7 separate regions of the Homo sapiens genome follow, and regions 1, 2, 3, 4, 6 and 7 are each linked to region 5. Evidence: promoter capture Hi-C in 16 types of primary human blood cells and fetal thymus (Javierre and others, 2016). All regions are on one chromosome and are shown on one strand. Each heading gives the region's core, a stretch centred on a gene start or on the middle of the fragment in contact. The rest is flanking DNA. Distances are from core to core; before and after follow the strand shown.

Region 1 (2,940 bases), core at 25-2,524, 5.1 Mb before region 5:
AGTCCCATCTTCCTAGATCCCATCTACCTGGTTAACAATTTCTTATTGCTTCTTTGGGAAAACTTTTCTCAACCTCTAGACTAGGGCAGGTCTCCAGACAATGCTCCCTTTACCTCTCTTTCACAGTACTCAGGCCAGTTAGTAATTACATTCATAACAATCTATACTATGTCTTAGGCAGTAAGATCAAGAGGCAAAAACAGTGCCTTTTAAAAAATTACCATTTAATCTGGGAGACAGAGCAAGACTCTGTCTCAAAAAAAAAAAAAAAATATTACCATTTAATCCCCAGGGCTCAACACCAAGCACAATGTCTGGCCCACTGTAGAAGCTTAAAACTTTTATTGAATAAACGAATTGAAGTTCAGAGGAAAGTTGGAAAGCATTAGCTTTTAATCTGCTTAGTAGTTATGTGCAACACTTAATCATGTTCTGGACAGCATGACACTTATTAACACATATCCTTTCTTTTCCTTAATTGATTTTTAGCTTTGTTGTACACAACTTTGAATGTCCACTGCTTCTGTAGGAGAGTGGGGCTCAGGGGAAACACTCCATGCTGGGTAAGTGGCATAGAATGAAAGGAACTGTTAAGTGGGCTGAACAGGAACATAGAAAAGGTAAACTCTACCTTGAAAGCAGCTGTGGTCTGAGTAAATATTCTTCCTCCCCTAATCTTTCCTTCTCAGGGACATTTACACTGACCTCTCTTTGATGGGAGGTAGAGTTCATGTGGCAACACTTACTTGTTCCCAGGAAGAAATCATATGACGTTCAGCAGGAGGCTTTTCTATGATGGTCACCTCAGTCACACCTGGGGAAGATTCTGGAAGAGAAAAAAGAGTCTGTAGAGTTGCAATTGGTCCGCTGTCATACATTTCTACGCTAGTTGTTGACTAACTGTTGATGACTGCTCTTAAGAACATCCAATCCTTCTCATGAACACTTATTACCCCTGTAATGAAAGCAGAGAACTGGTTGGCCTCTGAAAGGCATGGTCCCATAACCTAGGACAATGTAGTCTACCTGATAGAAAGGATATCCACAGACTGTGCTCTATACTGTCATTGCTCAGTCATTAATCTTATTGAACAAAAAACAGAGATTGTAGATTCCTAATGATTTCACACAGAAATTCTCAGTGAGCTAAATCTATATACTCAGGATAAAGTGAAAAGAAATAAAGAATAGCAACCCATTAACTTTTATAAGACATAAAACTTGCTTATTAACTTTTCTTCTAAATAAAACTCATCTTGAACATAACCTTCTACTCTGTGAGGTCTAGGATTTCAAAGCTGGGTTAACATAAAAAATGGATTCCATCCAAAAATATACTAAGAAAAAAGTTAAGTCATATTTCTAAATCCTTGAAGCGGGAAAAGGTCTCCAAATAATCTGGTCTGCTTCTCTTTGTGGAGCTGTGTTCTATCATTCACTCTGAGGGAGAGCAGAAGCCACCTGGGAATACTACAGAGTTCAATACCTCCTCCAACATTCTCCACTTGTCTGTGGCCATGCAGACTCAAGATTCTGAAGTCCTTAATCCAAGACTTAAAATTTGTCATAAAAGCTGTTATGACTTGAATTCTGTCCCCACCCCCACAAAAATAGATATTGAAGTCCTAACCCCCAGTACCTCAGAATATGACCTTATTTGGGAATAGAGTTACTGCAGACATAATTAGTTTAGATGAGGTCATACTGAAGTAGAGTAGATCCCTAGTCCAATGATTGGTGCCCTCCTCATAAAAAGAACAACATGTAGCCAGGTATGGCAGTGCATACATGTTGTCCCCACTACTTGGGAGGCTGACACAGGAGGGTAGCTTCAGTTTTTAAAATCTCTAGGAATATGGCAGAAACTTCTAATCATTTTATGTGGTTCACTGATCCTATAATTAAGCCAGTGTCCTTTTTATGCATTATAAAATTTCCTCCAAGTTGCCAGAAACTCAAATCTTGGGATGCAGCAATAGCCCAATATAGGAACTAAGAATTCTAGACTCTACCTATTCTAGTCTTGCTTTATACATTTACTAGTTGTATGACCTTAGATGGGTCTTCACTTCCCTTTACCTTCAGTAAGTAAAAATAGACCTTGGGTTTGAAAGAGGACACATACAATTATTTACTGTTTATAACAGGCCTCCATGGAAGGGTTATAGGTTCAGACAAAACTACTGTGATGCTACTGCAGATGTGGTCATGTCATACTTAAGCTTGGAATACTCCCATGGCAAGGTAATTGGCCAACATGTTGACTTTAATAACTTTCAGATAGTAAGTTGCTTAGGAAGTATCCATTGTAGAGACTCCTATATCCGACACAGTACTTCAGAATTGGTGAGGAGGTGGTGTTGGGGATATGGAAGAGAAGGGCATGCAATAAATTCCATTTGTATAATTCTCTGTTACAGGAAATGGGCATAAATTATCCTATTTAATCTTTCAACAATCTTGTAAAGCAGGTATCCTTACCCTCGTTTTAAGGATAAGGAAACCGAGGTTCAAAGATGTTAAGTAATTCATAAAATGAAATCTCTGACCAAAGCTGTGGACACCAAACCTAATGCTGTTTTTATCATGTTGTCTTAGTAGCCTATCATTTTGGTGAGATAACTAAAAACATTTTGCGGATGTTTGGAAAGCAATAGAAATTATACATTGTTCTTGGCCTATCAAGATGCCATATATGAGAAGCAATATCTGAATAGGCATAGCCATTCTCCCTGTCCTGCCTTTGTGACCAATGACAAGCATTTGTCAGCCACCTGGCTGGAATAACCTGCATGGCAGAGTAAGAGAGATGAAACTCACATCTTTAGATATGCCGTGGATTAAAACTCTCTGTGGTAGCTTACTCCAAAGGTGGGTGCTGTCAATTCCTTCCTTCCCTGCATGCCCATAGCACTTCTCATTGAGAGGTGAGTCTATTTC
Region 2 (2,821 bases), core at 6-2,505, 6.7 Mb before region 5:
TTAAGTCTTGGCTCACAAAGGAGAATTTGTTTCTATGTATGTATGTATCGCTTTGTTATTATCCTGTGTACTTTTTTAATATAACATTTTAAAAATATGTAACATTTAAACATGTAAAATGTAACGTTTTAAAAATAAATACAAATAAATGGGAAACGATTTGCAACAAACGAGTTGCTATCCTTAATAAGCAAAAAATTCTCACAAATAAAAAAGAAAAATCTTACTCCCTTAATTTTTTAAATGGGAAAAGCCATCTCTGAAGAACCATAAATGGTCAGTAAACATGAAGGGGGACTATCTTAAGCTCACAAAGTTGAAACATGAGGCATCATTTTTCACCGACTAAATAGCCAAAGAAAAATTTAAACAGTGAGACAATACCAGCAAGCTTCCACTGAAGAACGGGAAGACCCTAAGATAGGCTCCAGGAGTCTACGATACCAGTCTCCTTGAACTATGGGGACGTGGACGTCCCTGGTCACAAGTTGCCTGACTTTGGGCGATGTCTACGGCTGTAAATTTGGGATTATATAGCCACAGCACAGAACTGTTGTAAGGCTCCAGTGATACTCATAGGCAAAAGCAATATAAGTGACTGTTAGTTTTTGTTCAGCCTATTCATCCTTACATTTACTTTTGTCGGAAAAGAACTGGAATCACAGGAAAATCTGAGGTTTTTTTTTTTTTTTTTTTTTTGAGACAGAGTCTCGCTCTGTCGCCCAGGCTGGAGTGCAGCACATCTCAGTTCACTGCAAGCTCCGCCTCCCGGGTTCACGCCATTCTCCTGCCTCAGCCTCCCGAGTAGCTGGAACTACAGGCGCCCGCCAACATGCCCAGCTAAATTTTTGTATTTTTAGTAGAGACGGGGTTTCACCGTGTTAGCCAGGATGGTCTCTATCTCCTGACCTCGTGATCCGCCCGCCTCGGCCACCGCGCCCGGCCGAAAATCTGAATATTTTAATGGAAAACTGGGAGTGAGATTCGGGAATTACTTGAGACCAACAATGATGGGTGGTGCCAGGAGAAAGCCAGGGTGGGAACGGCCCAGGCGAGATGCGGGACCCTCCAGGTGCCGCCGCTCACAAGGACCCCTGACTCCTAGCGCACCCTCCCCTGGCCTTGGAGATTCCGCCGGGCTAGCGGCTACCGGGAGAAGGCGGTGGAAACTGTAGAGCCCGCGGCTCTGATTGGCTACCTCAGAGCAAGGGGCGGGGCGGCGGAGGACCCGAAGGGCGCGAGAGCGGAACACTGCGTACGCGCACTTCCGGTCTTTGTGGCTTGCAGCTCGGGGTGGGTGGCTCATTTCCTGGCCGCTCCTGGGCTTCGCGGTGAGGGACGTGGGCCCCTAGGAAGAGGGAGGTGGGGTTGGGAGCGCGCGCCGGACAGTGGAGGAGCTCCGCTCCTCGGCCTGCCCATCCCCAGGTCGCGGCCCTTTGGCCCGCGCGGCGTCTCCAAGCGACTGGGGAACTCAGAGGAGGCCAGCACTCAAACTCCTGCTTTCCAAAGGAAAACGCAGTTCCGCTGACCCCGTGACTTCGTAAATGCTGCGGTTTAACCAAGGATATAAAAATAGAAGGGCTAGTTAGTTAGTTAGTTAGTGCGGCCGGACTGGTTAAACCTTAAATTTGTAGGCTAAATATTTTAATTCATCTCTTAACGTTAACCGTAGTGTGAGGAATGAATTTTACTCATCTGTCCTGACAAACTAAGGGCATACATTCCTATCGATATCTCGCCATCCTAAAAGCAGGTCAAGTTTGGTCTGTGTCACAACATTTAATACCTATTTGTTACCATATTTTGCTTTTGAACATTTTTAGTCTTGGGATATTCTAAGCTTTTTCAGAACTGATACGGATCTCTTTGCTGCTTTTGTGTATGTGATACCTATCATGTTTTTGAACACATGGTAAGCATTTTACAGATACGTCTTGGTTCTTGGTCAATTCCTCTGTAGACTCGTTTATTCATAAGCAAAAATCTTAATGCTCAGTAAGTGCCTCAGTGTTTGTTGAAGTAATTCGGTAAACACCAAATGCGATCAAATGACAAATATCCAATATTTACATCAACTCATGTTTAATGTGAACTTTTAAAAAAACGTTATTACTGCCTTAAATGAAAATCAACATTACTTGCTTTAGATAGAAAGTAAGTAAAAATAAATGTTTAAAATCAGTATTACTAAATTCTGCCTAAATATTTTTACTCTTGGAAGTCTGATTCTGAAGCCTGTATTTTATTTAAAAGAGAGTTCTACAAGTTTTATTAATACATACATGTTAAAGATAGACTTTTCTCCTTGATACAATCAGAATTGAAAGAATTGGAAAGGAAATTTTCTCACTATGTGATTGATGTTAATGTTGCATTCACATTCTTAGGCTTCTAAAATAGTTTTTTCTAACATTAGTGGTAGGAATTCTTCATAATGGGAGACACTAATTGAGGTTAATGATTTTTAGTTTATCATCACATTATTGTTTTATTTAGTGATAGCCCCAAATCTACTCCCTTTCAATATATTACTAAAGTTACTCATCTTTCTTATTACAAGTACTTAGAGATTTTATTGATTGCTGTAAGTTAACTGCTTTTATATCCTTCAGGAAAGAAGAGATTACTCACACTCCTTCGCAAGCACAGAACCAGTTGTACTGAGCTTTTTGCTAAGCTGTTTCAGCCAAGAATGGCTGTGGAATCTGGAGTGATTTCAACCCTGATACCTCAGGATCCTCCGGAACAAGAACTAATACTAGTGAAAGTAGAAGATAACTTTTCCTGGGATGAGAAATTTAAGCAGAATGGGAGTACTCAA
Region 3 (2,918 bases), core at 108-2,607, 6.7 Mb before region 5:
CACAGCTGTATTCATTTAACAAGCCTTATCAAATTATATCCTTTAAATATTTGCTGTTTATGTCAGTTATACCTCAATAAAGCTGTTTTGTTTTGTTTTGTTTTGTTTTGTTTTGAGACAAAGTCTCGCTTTGTCACCCAGGCTGGAGTGCAGTGGCGCAATCTCGGCTCACTGCAACCTCCGCCTCCTGGGTTCATGGGTTCACGCGATTCTCCTGACTCGGCCTCCCAAGTAGCTGGGATTAAAGGCGCACACCACCATGCCCAGCTAATTTTTGTATTTGTAGTAGAGACAGGGTTTCACCTTGTTGGCCAGGCTGGTCTCCAACTCCTGATCTCAGGTGATCCACCTGCCTCAACCTCCCAAAGTTTTAGGATTACAGGCCTAAGCTGCGCCTGGCCAAAAAGAAAGCTGTTTTTTTAAAACTATCTGCACTCCCTACTTGGGAGGGTTGGACTCAAGTTCCCACATCTCTTTCCTCTTACGGTTATATTAAGGGCTTAGTCATACATCCCTAAATTTCATATATCCCAACAGGGACTTGGGCTGGGACAGGAAGCCCTCTTCCTCCACCTCAACTACCACTTAGCCACCCACCATTTTCTCAAACCTCTTCCTTTCCCCACCGGACAGCTTAAACCAAGTCACACGTCTCATTGGTCTCAACAGAAATGAGGTCCCAACTCCTCATTTCCCAAGATATTTCCATGAACACAGCAATATCCTTTCCTACCCTGATTACCCCGCACCCTCCATTTCGGGTCCTTCTCACCCTGATCAGTGAGAATTGTTCTAGCAAGCAAACCTTAAATAGACCTCGTACCCTTTCTAGATTGCAAAGTAGATAAAAATCCAACTTTCCGTTAATTCAGGGATTAATTACTGAGCATCACTTATTTCTTGGGCAGTGGTTCTCAAAATGTGGTCCCAGGACCAACAGCTTCAGGATCACCTGAGAACCTGGGCTGCCACCGCCCCCTCCCCCACTACTAAATCAGCAACTCCGGAGTTGTGGGGCAGAAGTCAGTATTTTAACAAGGCCTCCAGGTGATTCTGATGCGCGCTACTCTTCTGGGGGTGTGAAAAACCAGAGAGGACAGGAAGAAAGTTAGAATTAAAGCATACCTACGAATCAGATAAGCGATAGGGGGAGGGGTGGTTATTTAAAAAACGATAACTAATTAAGAACTTGTATGTAGTAAGAAAACCTACCCTGCCCCAGAGAGCTTTCCCGAAAGATAATGGATTCCGACATTCACCTCAAGAACCGGCAGACAGAGCAGCAAAGGATCTGTCGCTGGCCAAGCAGGTCCCTGGCTAAGGCACTGCTAGGGACAGCTCGCGGCGGTTCGGGGGTTAATTCTCGGCAGCCCTCCGTCACCCGGTGCCCCACCCCCGCCCTGCGCCTGCGCGGTGAAGCGCCATAGAGCTGAGCACTCCTCCCAGATTCCTAGAGCGGACAGGGCGATGGCAGGTTCGCCGGGTGTGAGGCTTCACAGCGGTCCGGTGACCAAGTCGAGGTAAGGGTGATGTCGGCTCGCGGATAGCAGAGGAGTTCCGGGTGATCTTGCCTAACGAGCAGGAAACTGTGCATGGTTTCTCGAGTCCTTGGAGAGTGAAGGCCCCCGGGGTCGCTCCCGGGCACGGAGAGACGATTGGTTCACGGCCTAGTGTTCGGTTTGTTCCCAGTCAGCCCTTGCTGGCCTTGGGTTCAACCGAATGAACGCCAGAAACTCTGTGGGGTGGGGGGAGTCACCAACCGTGGTGCATCCATACGAATCAGCCTACCGTACTGGGAAAGAGCCACCTGAATTTGTGAATGTTGTAAAAGCAAAAGGAAGAAAAATGATCAGTAGTGTCATTTTTGGATAGGAAGGGCAGCGAATAACATAGTGTTAACCACTAGAATTCACTGTAAAATTCCCCTCTCTGCGTTATCTTTCCAGTTATACCTTTTTTTGGTAGCATTAACCCCTAATTTTGTTTGAACATCTCTAGACTTGGAATGGGGAATGTGTGTCTTAAGTGGGTTAATCCCTGGCTCTTGGATGATGGGGAGGAAGCCTAATACATTCTGAGAGAAAAGCAACTGGAAGTCAAATGAGATTTTTTGTTTTCTCCTTCTTTTATATCTTGAGGATTTTTCTGGTGGTCTAGTCTCAGAGATTACATCTGTAGTCAGCACAATGATTCCCTTCCAAGCCCAGTGGTGCCCAGTTGCCTCCAGGTCCCAGACCTTTATGTGGACAAGAAAAGCTTACAGAGGAAATGGTAATTCTCCACTTGCACACTGAGGTGTCCAGTTGCAGCCCATGGAGATCCAGTTCAATTATGAATCTCAGGAACACCACCTTCTGTCAGGTGAGAGGCAGGGTATTATATCTTTCTTAGTGGCTTTGGCGGGGTGGGGAGGATGAGGGGGTGTCACTCTATGCTAGTGTCTTCAAATGATCCCCCTTAACTCTGTTAGGCAGTATTACCTCTTTAGTGTACCAAGCATAGTCACATGACTTTATTTCAAAATCTGGCGATCAAATTCTCATGCAGCTCTCTCCACTTTTTTAAGACCCCAAAGTCATTCATTTTTCCCTGTATAATGACCTCATTGCTAATCTGTCAGTTTTGGTCATTTTTCTTATCTACTGTAGGGGCATAGTTAAAAGTTCTGGAGTCTGACAACCTAGATTCAAACAGTAGTTTTGTCACTTAACTGGCTCCAGTAAGTTACTCATATATTTTACGATTCTGTTTCCTCACTTTTCAAGTGCATAGTACTTCATACCTTGAAGTTATTTTGAGATTTGTATCTATGTATTACTCCAGAATAAAGAACCCCAAAATTTAGTGACCTAAAACATCAGACTTCTTAAACCACATTATTTCTTATGATTCTGTAGGTCATCAACTTGAGCTGGGTT
Region 4 (3,209 bases), core at 110-2,609, 6.6 Mb before region 5:
TTACCATTTAAAAAATATTTTTAAGGTGTTTAAGAACTCCTTGGACTTATATGTGAAAAAATGTTCACTTGCTGAGTAGCAGATCACATAATATTGAAAAGATCATATGTGAAAAACATCACATAATTTTGAAAAATTATCTTGCACATAATACGTAAATATTCAGTCTTCCACCACACCATACGTACATTTATATTTATAATGATAGGCATTAATCACAGAAACTTCTATTAAGAAAAGGCACTCGCATAAGCACCTTGACTTCCTGCAGTGGTCCAGTGTCTTGTCCTTACACTGGAGGACTCACAGTTTCCCCAGCTTCTACCTTCAGTGAAACTGTATACTGCTTCTGGACCTTTATTATTTGCACGATCATGCCCGTGCTGTTGTTTACGACACATACTAGCAATGAGCCATTCAGCCTATTTATTTATTCAGGGCCCAAAATCTGAACAATAACAACTTAAAAAAACTTATTGTAACCCAAGCAAGATGAAGACTAGAATCAGAAAAGGCCTTATCAGACAAGTAATACATACTGGTTTAATTAAATACCCTGGAGTGTGGTGGCCTTATACATAAGGTCTAGCCAACATTCATTCGTTCCTATTCCAAGACCCTGCTTATCAACGGTGCAAGTATTTCTACATAATTTTCTCTTCCTTTTATGCTGTAGAGCATACCGCTTGTGGGAAATGGAGGGAAGGCCCACGGTCCCGACAATGTTTGGGCAGGGTACCTCGTCCCAGGTGGATCGCCCACCTTACTGCTGCATAGACCTGCTGTGTATCCCGGCCCCGGCCCCGGCCCCGGCCCGACGTCCTCTAGCCCCTCTTCCCAGCACTCAGGACCGCGGATTTCAGATGACCAAAGGCCACCCTGTGACAACAGCGTCGGAACCACGGCACTTCCGCCTGCGGCCGGTGAGACTACAAATCCCAGAAGCCCCGCGCAAGTCTCGTCCCACTACCACCCCCTCCCATCACGACTCCCAGAACCCTCCGCGAGACGCCAGGGCCTCGAAATAGAACAAAACCGGCCGGTGGGGGAGGGGGAAGGTGAGGGTCTCGGAGGACACAGGGGGTTAGAGAGCTCTCTGCAAATGCCGAAGACCCAAGCAGGCCTGCCGCCTACCCCTCCCCGCCCCACAACTGCTAGGCGCGGAGACCGCGGCCTGTTCCCCGCGCCTCCCGGGAAGCTGAGGAAGGTCCCGGACAGGCTTCCCCGCCGGCTCCTGCTAAGAGGTCCGCAGACCCTAGCCCGGTGTCCCCCCTCCCTCTCATAACGTTCCCCGCACACCGGCGCAAACCTCCGGCTCAGGAACCGCAGCAGCTTCGCTGTCCACGGCAGACGCAGAAACGCCGTTCACAAGCCTTTTCCCAGAAGCCCCCGGCGCGGGCTGCTTCCGGTCTGCGGGCCTGAGGAGGCGGGGAGAGGTAAAGCCCACGTTGCCATGGAGAAGCGCCCCGGGCGGGGGAGGGGCGGCCCCACGACAATGACCGCATTGAGGCTGCGCTTGGCCTCGCGCCTCTCCTCGAACAGCCCAGCGTCCTCTGGACCGTTTAAAAGAAAACATAAAGAGGACTCTACCATTAAGATAGTCCTTACAATTTCGCAAGCCCTTTCACGTGCATTATCTTGTGGATCCTCTCAGTAATCCCCTGCAAGAAGGAATGAAAGTGAGTGTTTGTGAAAGCTTACTACATTGTGCCAGGCGCTCTCGTCGTGCTTTACATGTCATTTTTTTTTCCACAAATAAATGATGTAGGAACTTTCATTATCCCCATTTCACAGCTGAGATAGTTGAGGCACAAATACAGTAAATAACCTGACAAGAGCTCACAACTCATTTGTGGGTAGCAAGATTTGAAACCAAGACGTGATTCAAATCTTTGGCTCCCACTAGTTATGTCATGGAGCTTTATTCCGACCTATTTATCTGTCAGGAAAACTAGATAAGACAGGTTAAGAGTTTTGGCAGTGATGTCACGGTGAATTTGTAGAATGCATGGTCATCTTAAAGCTGGGCATTTTATACCATAAAACAACTGCTGACGCGATCATTTAAAATTACAAATCAGACCACTTCACTCCCCTATTTAAAGCCCTCCAATTTATGTCATAATAATTTATGACATAAAAACTCCTTATAATGGCCTGTAAGTCCCCTGTGGTCTGTTGCCTGCCCGCACCCCCAGACCCTGGCGCCCCCAGTCACCTCAGCTCCTCGGCTCATTGTGGCCCAAGATCCTCAGCCTCACCACCTGCCTTTCATGGCGCATGACCCTTCATGGCACTGTTATTAATGGAAGTGATCTCATTTATTTACTTGTTTTATTTTTTGTTTTGTTTTGTCTTTAAGTCCCTTAAGGGCAGGGACCTTGTCTGTCTTGCTCACCACAGTATCCCATCCTAGATCCTGGAAGCTGACTGCCTGGTAAATAGAGAACTCAATAAATATTTGTTGAATAAATAAATGAATTGTGGGATGGTTACATTGCTGCCTTTAGCTAGGTCACATGATTGGCATCAGACACCACACAAAGGAGCCCTGTTGTTTAAGGACTGGTCAAAAGTGTAGATCCAGCCTAACATAAGCATTTCAAGATCCTCAGGCTTTGACTTTTTGCCTCATTGGAGAAAATGCCCTCTGAAAAGTGCCGTCAGGCTCCGCTGGATTCGTGCATGAGAGAGCAAGTGAGCGAGCAGCTGATGGTATACCACTGCTTTTCATTCCGACCAGAGCTCTTCTCACAACCCCTGCTAACACTTCTCTCCATTGCAGGAAGCTTCAGAAGTACAGCCTTTTCACTCTGCTACTTGGATACGGCCCCTAAGCAACTTGGCTGCTCTTCCCAACCTTTCCCTCTTATCTGATTTGTAAAGGCTAGCTGAAGGCATTTTTGTTTTAAGAGTTTTTACATCTAATTAATGTTGGAAAACAAAAATAATAAATCTGAAACCTAACCTTGAGGAAGTTAAAAATGTTGCAAAATTTTACAAAACCCTTTTCCTGTGATTATATTGTTTGTTTTGTTTTTGAGACAGGGTCTTGCTCTGTCACCCAGGCTGTAGGGCAATGGTGCAGTCTTGGCTCACTGCAGCTTCAACCTCCCAGACTCAGTGATCCTCCCGCCTCAGCCTCCTAACTGGGCATTTTATACCATAAAACAGCTGTTGATGCAATCATTTAAAATTACAAATCAAAC
Region 5 (3,231 bases), core at 423-2,922:
TTTTGAGAACTTATTTTGTGTAAAACATTCTGCATTAGCCATTTTTTTTCCTTTTCCAGGTTAAACAGCTCCACACCTTTCACCCTTTCTTGGAAATATTTTTTTTCTAATCCCTCAACATTCTAATTACGCCATTTTGCACATACTTTAGTGATGTCCGTCTTAAAATGCAGCACTTAGAAATAAAGACATAGGCTGGGCGAGGTGGCTCACGCCTGTAATCCCAGCACTTTGGGAGGCCGAGGAGGGCGGATCACGAGGTCAGGAAATCGAGACCATCCTGGCTAACACGGTGAAACCCTGACTCTACTAAAAAATACAAAAAATTAGCCGCGCGTGACGGCGGGCACCTGAAGTCCCAGCTACTTGGGGGGCTGAGGCAGGAGAATGGCATGAACCTGGGAGGTGAAGCTTGCAGTGAGCCGAGATCGCGCCACTGCACTCCAGCCTGGGCAACAGAGAGACGGGCACTCCAGCCTGGGCAACAGAGCGACTCTGTCTCAAAAAAAAAAAAAAAAAAAAAAAAAGAAATGACATAGCAGTTTGGGAGGCCAGGGCAGGCAGATCACTGGAGGTTAGGAGTTTGAGACCCGACTGGCCAACATGGTGAAACCCCATCTCTATTAAAAATACAAAAATTAGCCTGACTGGGTGGCGGGTGCCTGTAATCCCAGCTACTTGGGAGGCTGATGCAGGAGAATCGCTTGAACCCAGGAGATGGAGGTTGCAGTGAGCCGAGATGGTGCCAGCCTGGGCGACAATAGCAAAACTCCATCTCAAAAAAAAAAAAAAAAAAGAAATAAAGGCATAGAAAATGGAGACTTTCATTCAATATCATCATTAATAACCAGTAAGTAGGAAGTATTAAACTCAGCAATGCATTAGACAGCTAGCGGGGCAAGACACGGAAGTAAATGGCACACTGGTCTTACCTTCCAAGAGTTTTCAATCTAATTGGAAGGGAGTATTACAATTTTAGATTATAATAATTATAAAAACAAACATTATAGGAGCTCAGAGGGTTTAGAGATCTGTGTTCTGTAGTTATTACAGGAGGCCTCTAGATTCTAACTTGGGTTAGGGCTTGAAACTACATTGAATTTGAATATTCCCAGTTTAAACATGCACGCAAGTATTATGTCCAAAGTAGCATGAATACTGACAACACCAAACATGAAACCCAGATTTATTTATTCTCTATTTAGTCCTTTCCCTACTCTTTAGAGCAGAAAGAGAAAATCCTTGCTTGAGATAGCAAATTAGTGCTACACTTTTTGGGAAGGCCACTGGAATTTAAACCTGGCAAAATTCCAATTTTTGTGCTTGTAACCTGTTTAGCCGGCAGCCAGTGAAAGCTGTTATAATTCTTTTTGAATTGAATTTTCTTTCGTATTGTTTTAGGTACAGCTCAAGCTCAAATGATAGCGTCTCTTTTTCTTTAAAAAAAAAAAAAAGTGCTGTCAAGACAGGAAAACTGGAATGTAACCAGATTAGCCGTTTCCCGTATACATTTGCCCTTAAGCAAGATGGTGGGCGCCTTGTGCACATGCGCGGAAGGGTTGTTTCGGCGGGGAGTTCCGCCGCGTCGGAACTCGCTCCGGGCGTGGATTGGCGGCTTGCTGGCGGGGGCGGAACCGGAAGTTCCGTGTTGTGGGGCTCAGCTGGTTCATTTATGTTGTTTTTCCTGTACCTAAGTTCCCGCTGTAGGTGGTACCTTTGCAGACGGTGCGATGGGGGAAGCAGAGAAGTTTCACTACATCTATAGTTGTGACCTGGATATCAACGTCCAGCTTAAGATGTAAGAGAACACTCGGGACAGGGAGTGGGATTGCTGGGGCGTAGGGACGTGGGGGCAGGGGCCTGTTGGGAGTGAGAGGCAGAAAGTACGTGACTCGTCTCAAGGCCCAGATTGGGGGCGGCTGTGAGGGCTGTAGCCAGGGAGGCGCGAGAGAGTGGATCGTGGAGAGGGGCTCTTTTGGAAAAGGATTTAATACGTGGTCTCCGTGAGAAGCACAGCAGTAGGAATAGCCCTTAAGTTCCGCTGTATTTTACAGTCTTTAAAGTTTTTGCTGTTCAGCCTTTTGAGAGTTTATTACTATTTCATTGTAAATTAAGAAATCAAGTCTCGTCGTAAGTAAGAGGACGATCTTTATTTTGGAACGGGGCTTGTAGGGTGGAATGAAGGCTTCAGAAATTATGGAGAGGTAGACACAGGCAGATGCGATAGTTGAGAATAAGATGAGCACATGGTGTATTAGCACGGGAGGTGATAGAGGCCTAGAGTGAATCTTTGGGTAGTATGGCAGTGTTTAGTCAGGGAAGTTGGGAGTAAGTCGAAGATGAGGGTTCCAGTTTCAAAGGTACCAAGAAGATAGGAGAAAAGAGTCTTTGCAGGAAAACGTTGGGGCACCACGGCTGAAGTAAAGGTCAAGGGCGTGATATCTTGAGATGAGGATAATAGAACTGGTATAATGACGAGGGATGCACAAGACAGAGTTGGAAATTATGTCCCTTTTAAGGTGGTCATGTAGGAGTGTTGTCAAAGCTATCACAAATTATTGACCATAGCATCATCCATAATTAATAAACATTTCTTGTGTATGTTCAATTAATATTCAACAAATATGTGTCGGTCAAAGGCCTGCAGTAAGTGATAGATAAATTTTCTCAGTTGTCTGATGTACCTTTGAATGATCATTTCATTTTATTTTCAGAAGTCCCTTATTCGCTGACAAATACTTTACTTTTTAGTTTGTGGTGGTGGTGGTAAAAGTAATATGTCAACAACCACCTTGTACCTTTGTATGATACTTTATACACTCATTTAAGGTATTTTCCATAGCATACACCACTAGTAGTTTATACAGGATCAATATTGATAAAGGGCTTTCCTTCAGCTTGATGCTCAGTATTTCTTGGATATATGAATGCATTTTTTGAAATGTTTGAACATTAAAAATAAAGAAAAAGCCAAAAAAACCGGTCCCTTTTTTTTTTTTTTTTTTTTTTGGAGACAGGGTCTCACTCTGTCTCCTTTCCCTTTGGGATGACGTTCTGCTTCTTTTGCTTCAACTCTCATGCATTGTTCAGGATCATTTCAGACATCTATCTGGGGTACTAAGTCCCTTCCCCATGCCAGCCTAAGTACTCTTGAGACTCTGATTTATCTTACTGTAATGGGAAGAATATTGGCTTTGGCCTCCCTGCCCTAGTGTTTATTCTCAGCTCTGT
Region 6 (3,162 bases), core at 37-2,536, 6.0 Mb before region 5:
TCAACAAAAAGACAACTCCAATAAAAAATGAGCAAAGAACTTAAACAGCCAAAGATACATAAATTGCCAACAAGCACATGAAAAGCTGCTCAAAAGCATCAGTAGTCAGGGAAATGTTAATCAAAACCACAATGAGATGCTACATCATACTCACTAGGAAGGCTAGATTTAAAAAAAAAAGAAAAAGAAAAGCAAATGTTGGTGAGGATACGGAGAAACTGGAACCCTCATTAAGCACAGAATTACTACATAACCCAGCAGATCTACTCTTAGGTATTATACCCCGAAGAACAGAAAAAAGGCACTCAAACAAATGCATGTACACACATGTTCACAGCGGCATTCATTCATAACAGCCAAAAAGTAGAAACAATTCAAACGTTCAACTGATGAATGGATAAACCATTGTGATACCGCCATACAATGGAATATTATTCAGCCATAACAACGAATGAAGTACTGATACGTGCTGCAAGGTGGATGAACCTGATACATTATGCTAGGTGAAGGAAGCCAGACACAAAAGGTCGTGTGTATGATTCCATTTACATGAAATGCCCAGAATAGGTAAATCCATAGAGACAGAAAGCGGACTGGTGGTTGCCAAGGCCTGGGAGGGAGAGGAGGATTGGCCGTAAGTGCTTCATGGAGTTGGCTGTCCTTCGGCGAAATATTTTGGAAATAGCAGAATGGTGCTTGCACAACATTGTAAATTTACTAAACGCCACTGAATTGTTCACCTTAAAATGGTCAATATTACGTTATGTGAATTTCACTTTAATTACAAAAAGAGAAACGCTAGCGTTTACGCAGGCGGAGGGCAGGCTGGACTGGGGACGCTCCTCCCGGCCGCCTCGTTGCTGGCAGCGCTTCCGCCCGCCGGCGCACCAGTCAGTACCGCGCCCGGCGAATGTGGAGGGCGAAGCTGCGGCAGGGCAATCACAAAAGGGCTGTCAGAGAGGAGGCGAGGCGGGAGGAAGATGGAGAGGCGGGTGGGAGCCTCACCTTTGGACTCTATCGCCACAGCCCGGTCTAGCCGCTACGCCCGAGCTCAAGTCTGACTCGAAACTCCGCTGGGTGCCTGAGAGGACCCGGCAGGCCAAGGGGTGGAACTGAGGGGGCGGGGACGCGGCGGGCGGGTGGGGCCGCCTCCCGGCTGGGCACGCCTCCAAGCCAGACTGGACGCGAAGGAAACCGGAACCTGTCTGCCTACGGTGCCTGTTTCCGGAAGCAGCTTGAGTCCGGACACCAACGACGGGGACGCTGGGAAGCCGACTTCCGGCGCCCTATTTTCTCACCTGGTTCCCGCGGCGAGCCAGCGGCAGCGGCGGCGGCGATGAGACAGAAGCACTACCTTGAGGCTGCAGCGCGGGGACTGCACGACAGCTGCCCGGGCCAAGCCCGCTACCTCCTGTAAGAGGACTGGAGGGGAAGCGGGAGGCGAGCGGGTAGGTGTTCCTTTGCTCCTCACAAGTCTCTTTCTCTTTTACAGCTGGGCCTACACTTCGTCGCACGGTAAGAAGAACGCCTGTCTCTTGTGCTTTGGGCTCTTGTCGCCCCGCTTTCCTCTGTTCCGCACAACGCTCAAATAAGGCCGATGGACTCACTTCCCTCCATAAAAACAACAACAACAAAGCCCGCATGTGTCTCGGTTTCGTGAAAAATCCAAATTCTTTAATGTGCCTTGTCTTGCTTTGTTAGCGGCATTTGACACATTGATCAGTCTTGAAATAGTTTCCTCCCTTGGCTTCTAGGTCATTACGTAGTTCACCTCTTCATTTATTACTTCTCGATTTGCTTTGCTGGTTCCTCCTAATCTCCCCAAGCTTTAAGTATTGTCGTGGCCCAGTACTCAGCCCTTGGACCTCTTTTCTAGGCACACTCGCTTCCTTGGTGACAGTTTTTCATCCAATCTCATGGCTTTTAAATACCATATACTGAGGACTTACAAATGTATATACTCAGCGCAGACCTCTCCTCTGAATTCTAGACTCATATATCCGAATGTCTTCTTGACAAATTCTTTTCAATGTCTAGTAATTCAAACTTAGCTAATATGTCCAAAACCTGAGCTTTAACCCCCAACAAGATCCTCCAGTTTTTCTCATTTCAGTAAATAATTCCATTCTTCCCTTACAGTTATTGAGCCCAAAAACCTTGGAGCTATTCTTGACTCCCTAACTCTCTCTCCTCCCCCAGGCCAGTATGCGAGCAAATCCTGTTGGCTTTAAAATGTAGCCAAAATCAGCCAGGAGCGGTGGCTCACCCCTGTAATCCCAGCACTTTGAGATGCAGAGGCGGGCGGATCATTTGAGGCCAGGAGTTCGAGACCAACCTGGCCAACATGGCGAAACGCTGTCTCTACTAAAAATACAAAAAAATTACCTGGCATGGTGGTGCACGCCTGTAATCCCAGCTACTCGAGAGGGTGAGGCATGAGAATCTCTTGAACCCGGGAGGTGGAGGTTGCAGTGAGCGGAGATGGCGCCATTGCACTCCACTCCTCACCACATCCATTGCTACTACCCTGCTCCAGGCCATCACCAGCTCTCTCCTGGATTAATAAAAGTGAAAGTCCTTTAAAAGGATTGTAAGGCCCTGTGTCATAGACCTGCATACCTCTCTGACGTACTCTTTCCTTCACGCAACTCCAGTCACACTAGGTCTCCTTGCTTTTCTGTTTCAGGGCCTTTGCAGGTACTCTTCACTCTGCCTGGGATTCTTGCCTCACATATCTGCTTTCATGTGAATCCTCCATTTCCCTCTGGTCTCTATAATATCACTCAATGAAGCTTTCCCTAGCCACCTATTTAAAATTACAGTAACTCCATCAATACTTCTATTCCCCCCTCCTATCTTACTTTTTTATTCCCAGCACTTAACATTTGACGTTGTTATATTTATTGTATGCCTCGGTGAATTGTCCTTTGTTCACTGCTGTGTCTCCAGCACTTAGAACAGTGCCTGGCATTCTTAATTGTCACTTAGTGAATATGAATGAGTTTCACATTTGGCAGAGCTAAGTTTAAGTGTGGTCTTTAGCTTTATAAGTGCTGTTGCATCCCTGGCACTTAGCACAGTGCTCAACAGTAGATACTATTCATTGTGCTAATTATTTAAAAAAAGAAACAAAATCGCAGTGCAATTTGTTATTTTGTGGTA
Region 7 (2,930 bases), core at 431-2,930, 5.8 Mb before region 5:
CCATTTAAGACCCCTTTCCCCAATCACAATCCTCAAAGGTGCTCAATTTTGCCAGTGTATCCCTCAGGATATTTTCTATGCATACTCAAATACATGTATACTTAATTTTTTTTTTAAAGTTTTTTTTTTTTTTTTCTAGAGACGAGGTCTCACTATGTTGTCCGGGTTGGTCTTGAACTCCTGGCCTCAAGAGATCCTCCACCTCCAATTCCCAAAGTGCTGGGATTACAGGCGTGACCACTACGCCCAGCCTCAAATAAGTGTATACTTTAAATACACATTGAATCTTTTTTCCGACTTGACAATGAATCAGACACATTATGTCCATACATAGAATTCTTAAAGTAAACTGAACTTCATGAAAAACTCACTGTAGCATCCTTGTGTTACTACAAACCAGTCAACATTTAATCACAGGCTGTTAATCATCCACAGTAGTGTTTGGAACCAAAGGCCTGTGCCCCAAAGAGGAGGAAGCAATTGAGTTGGAGCTTGAAAAGCAGAATTCAGTTAAGCAGAGCCAGAATTCAGTTAATTCAGATCCAGCAGGATGTCCAGCACCAACGGTGGAGGTGATGGTGGTCAAACTCACATCTCCAGCAAAAGACGCAGACGTCAAGTTTACAACTAAGCAAGAGCATGGGGCTATCCAGCTCTACCACGGTCAGCTGTTCTTTGGACAGGGCTCTCGCATTCATTACCTTATCTAAAATACCGGTAAAACCTATTTTGCAAGGCGAAGGAGGAAAACACATGAAGGAATGTATATTACAAGTACTCGTTAAACTCATGTGTTGCACAAGTGCGAGGTATCATACAGGGAACAGTGGGAAATGGAGGTACGGCGTAGAACGAGGCTCCTGAAAGAGGAATCTTTGGGGCTTGAAGTTTCGGGAATTCTTTTACTAGGTAAAAGATAAACATTTAGAAATCATTCCCAGGAGAGAGGCGAGGAGCGGGGTGGGAGGGGACTAGCACAGGGGACAGCTCCGAGCCTTTCTCCAGGGAGGATGCTGAGCGCGGTCGTGGACCCGTTGAAGGATCTCCTTTCCTGCAAGTTGGTGTGTGCTGGAGGAAAAAGGAAAGCAGAAGGGAAGGGCCTTAGAGAAAAAGGCGAGTACAGAAAACGGAAAAGAGGGCACAAAGCTCTCTTCTAAAAGCTTTTTATTTCTAAACACGTCAGTCCCTTCTTCGAATATGGGATGAAAAGTACGGATCTTTTCCTCAAAAAATCCTCCGTTGCACCCCGAAGCCCATCTGAGCACCTTAAGAAGTCCGGCTCTCTAGGGTGAGTGGGCGCCTGCGGCGGGCTCCCCCCAGCATCCTCTTTCTGTAGCCCCCCTGCCCGGTCCGCAGGATCCGGTTCTCCGCAGAACCACCCCTACCCCGCCACGCCTGTCTGGCCTGAGGAGCTCCCCTCCCAGCCGCCCTGCTCCCGGACCTGAAAGACTCACGTCTCCGCGGCCTCGTTGTCCCACGGCCCGGCCACGCGCGCAGGTTTGGTTCCACACGGGCGGTCCAGAGGGCTCGGAACGGGCCCACTGGTGTCTTCGAGAAATCTCTACCAGGCGCGAACACGCGGTGGTTTCATTGGGTTGGCTGCCCCTCGGTCCGGGGGCAGCGCCGCGCAGCCACCCGGCAGCCGCGCCCCTAGCCTTCGCGAAGCTGGAAGACAATCACTAATTACCGCCGCGCGCAGCGCCGCGGGGAACCACCGCCCCCTTCGCCCAGGACTGCAGGGCATGCGCAGTGCGACCCCGGAACCCGGCTCCGCAGACGGATCCGCTTTTCCGTGTGTTCGCCGACGCCGCGGGGGCGTGGCGCGGCCCTAGCGCATTGTAAGCAGTTGGGGGTCATTTCCTCGAGGCCCTACTCGCTAGCCAGCGCCCCCGGGGCCAGCCCTGGCTGCTGCTGGGAGCCGGGTCGTAAGGGGCAGCGAGATGTTTCTGACGCTGCCCCAGGCACATGAGCCCCGGGTCCTTCGGGAGGGTCCCGAGCCACTCGGGTCGGATTTCGCTCTTGAGACAAAGGCCTGGCTCGTTCGCGGAGCGGGGCCACGGTCCAAGAGCAGAGCTAGCAAAGCGGCGGCCTTGCACAGGGGTTCCAGCCTGCGGTGGGAACGGAGAGTCTCAGGGGGGCGGGGCTGCCTCCGTCTGGCCCTCGGCTGGCTGCGAAACGTGGACTGGGTGATGCCTCAGGAGAAACCACCCTAGTAGTTCCGCTCCGAGGGCGGAAGTGCGCGTCTCTTGTTTGTGCGGCTGACCAGTTGGCGACATGGTGGCACCCGTGCTGGAGACTTCTCACGTGTTTTGCTGCCCAAACCGGGTGCGGGGAGTCCTGAACTGGAGCTCTGGGCCCAGAGGACTTCTGGCCTTTGGCACGTCCTGCTCCGTGGTGCTCTATGACCCCCTGGTAAGAGAGGTCGCTGGACGGCCGACCCTTGTGCTTTTCGGGTTGAACCTGTGGACGTGCTCCGGGCGCGCTGTTAGTTGCCGCCCCAGACCTAGGAGGCGAGTCGGGTCGGCTCAGGGGAGCGGGGTTTGGGCTCGGAGTCTCCAGTGGACCTGCCGGACTCGCTCCTCACCCCTCACCCTTTGCCGTCTCACGCGTGGCGTCATCCTAGGGTCATTGCTGCCCATGAGCTGCTAGTAACCTGTTAGTCCCACGCAGAAACCCGAATGATAAGCATCTTACCTGAAGCCTTCCTTGGGAACTGTAGTACCGTTAATCAATTTGGGTTTTAAAACAATTGAAATTTATATGTAGATTAAAACCATCATCCCACAGGTGCAATCTCATTTCAGTATTTCCTTCAGTTTTGGTTAATGAACTTTTGTTGTATTGAATTTCAAGGAAATGTTACCTGTGTTTTAGCTACGGGAATGGACATTTTAGAGAAAGTGTCAGTTTGGGGGAAAGGTCATAGGGGA

Evidence for each region. Contacts are between HindIII fragments. The CHiCAGO score rates a contact against its expected background, and 5 or more counts as called.
Region 1: a contact is called between a fragment that was not itself captured here and the fragment with the promoter of PIK3C3 in region 5, in 2 of 17 cell types (total CD8 T cells and total CD4 T cells). The highest score is 7.2, in total CD8 T cells.
Region 2: the fragment with the promoter of ZNF397 here is called in contact with the fragment with the promoter of PIK3C3 in region 5 in 6 of 17 cell types (non-activated CD4 T cells, activated CD4 T cells, naive CD4 T cells and 3 more); the score reaches 19.0 in non-activated CD4 T cells.
Region 3: a contact is called between the fragment with the promoter of ZSCAN30 here and the fragment with the promoter of PIK3C3 in region 5, in 1 of 17 cell types (total CD4 T cells). The highest score is 6.4, in total CD4 T cells.
Region 4: a contact is called between the fragment with the promoter of ZNF24 here and the fragment with the promoter of PIK3C3 in region 5, in 1 of 17 cell types (total CD4 T cells). The highest score is 6.4, in total CD4 T cells.
Region 6: the fragment with the promoter of RMP24 here is called in contact with the fragment with the promoter of PIK3C3 in region 5 in 8 of 17 cell types (non-activated CD4 T cells, total CD4 T cells, naive CD8 T cells and 5 more); the score reaches 46.3 in non-activated CD4 T cells.
Region 7: a contact is called between the fragment with the promoter of SLC39A6 here and the fragment with the promoter of PIK3C3 in region 5, in 8 of 17 cell types (non-activated CD4 T cells, fetal thymus, total CD4 T cells and 5 more). The highest score is 21.1, in non-activated CD4 T cells.

Annotation. Positions count from the first base shown.
Region 1 is chr18:36,818,148-36,821,087 of GRCh38, forward strand. It overlaps TPGS2 (tubulin polyglutamylase complex subunit 2), which reads right to left. Exons shown (of 7, transcript NM_015476.4): 2 at 747-826. Among named protein-coding and RNA genes, the nearest start is that of TPGS2, 9.4 kb to the right of the region's middle. The HindIII fragment of the contact is 1,891 bases long and covers 330-2,220 here.
Region 2 is chr18:35,239,779-35,242,599 of GRCh38, forward strand. ZNF397 (zinc finger protein 397) reads left to right here and starts at 1,256. Exons shown (of 4, transcript NM_001135178.3): 1 at 1,256-1,331; 2 at 2,613-2,821. The coding sequence starts at 2,693. RefSeq lists enhancers at 938-1,047, 993-1,518 and a silencer at 1,308-1,437. The HindIII fragment of the contact is 1,449 bases long and covers 390-1,838 here.
Region 3 is chr18:35,288,872-35,291,789 of GRCh38, forward strand. ZSCAN30 (zinc finger and SCAN domain containing 30) reads right to left here and starts at 1,358. Exons shown (of 4, transcript NM_001112734.4): 1 at 1,213-1,358. It also overlaps the pseudogene ZNF271P. RefSeq lists an enhancer at 1,475-1,634. The HindIII fragment of the contact is 2,453 bases long and covers 1-2,254 here.
Region 4 is chr18:35,343,061-35,346,269 of GRCh38, forward strand. ZNF24 (zinc finger protein 24) reads right to left here and starts at 1,360. Exons shown (of 4, transcript NM_006965.4): 1 at 1,300-1,360. LOC124904283 (a long non-coding RNA gene) reads left to right here and starts at 994. Exons shown (of 2, transcript XR_007066337.1): 1 at 994-1,679. RefSeq lists an enhancer at 678-737 and a silencer at 1,418-1,587. The HindIII fragment of the contact is 2,541 bases long and covers 1-1,694 here.
Region 5 is chr18:41,953,562-41,956,792 of GRCh38, forward strand. It overlaps PIK3C3 (phosphatidylinositol 3-kinase catalytic subunit type 3), which reads left to right and starts at 1,673. Exons shown (of 25, transcript NM_002647.4): 1 at 1,673-1,798. The coding sequence starts at 1,731. RefSeq lists an enhancer at 1,451-1,630. The HindIII fragment of the contact is 3,603 bases long and covers 410-3,231 here.
Region 6 is chr18:35,971,393-35,974,554 of GRCh38, forward strand. It overlaps RMP24 (ribonuclease MRP subunit p24), which reads left to right and starts at 1,287. Exons shown (of 5, transcript NM_031446.5): 1 at 1,287-1,413; 2 at 1,493-1,515. The coding sequence starts at 1,337. LOC105372066 (a long non-coding RNA gene) reads right to left here and starts at 1,059. Exons shown (of 4, transcript NR_188032.1): 1 at 1,006-1,059. RefSeq lists silencers at 774-1,068, 1,008-1,157 and an enhancer at 1,077-1,969. The HindIII fragment of the contact is 7,007 bases long and covers 1-1,824 here.
Region 7 is chr18:36,127,660-36,130,589 of GRCh38, forward strand. It overlaps SLC39A6 (solute carrier family 39 member 6), which reads right to left and starts at 1,681. Exons shown (of 10, transcript NM_012319.4): 1 at 1,455-1,681. ELP2 (elongator acetyltransferase complex subunit 2) reads left to right here and starts at 2,240. Exons shown (of 22, transcript NM_018255.4): 1 at 2,240-2,412. The coding sequence starts at 2,275. RefSeq lists enhancers at 1,479-1,984, 1,607-1,901, 1,932-2,121, 1,985-2,490, 2,282-2,491. The HindIII fragment of the contact is 4,684 bases long and covers 1,159-2,930 here.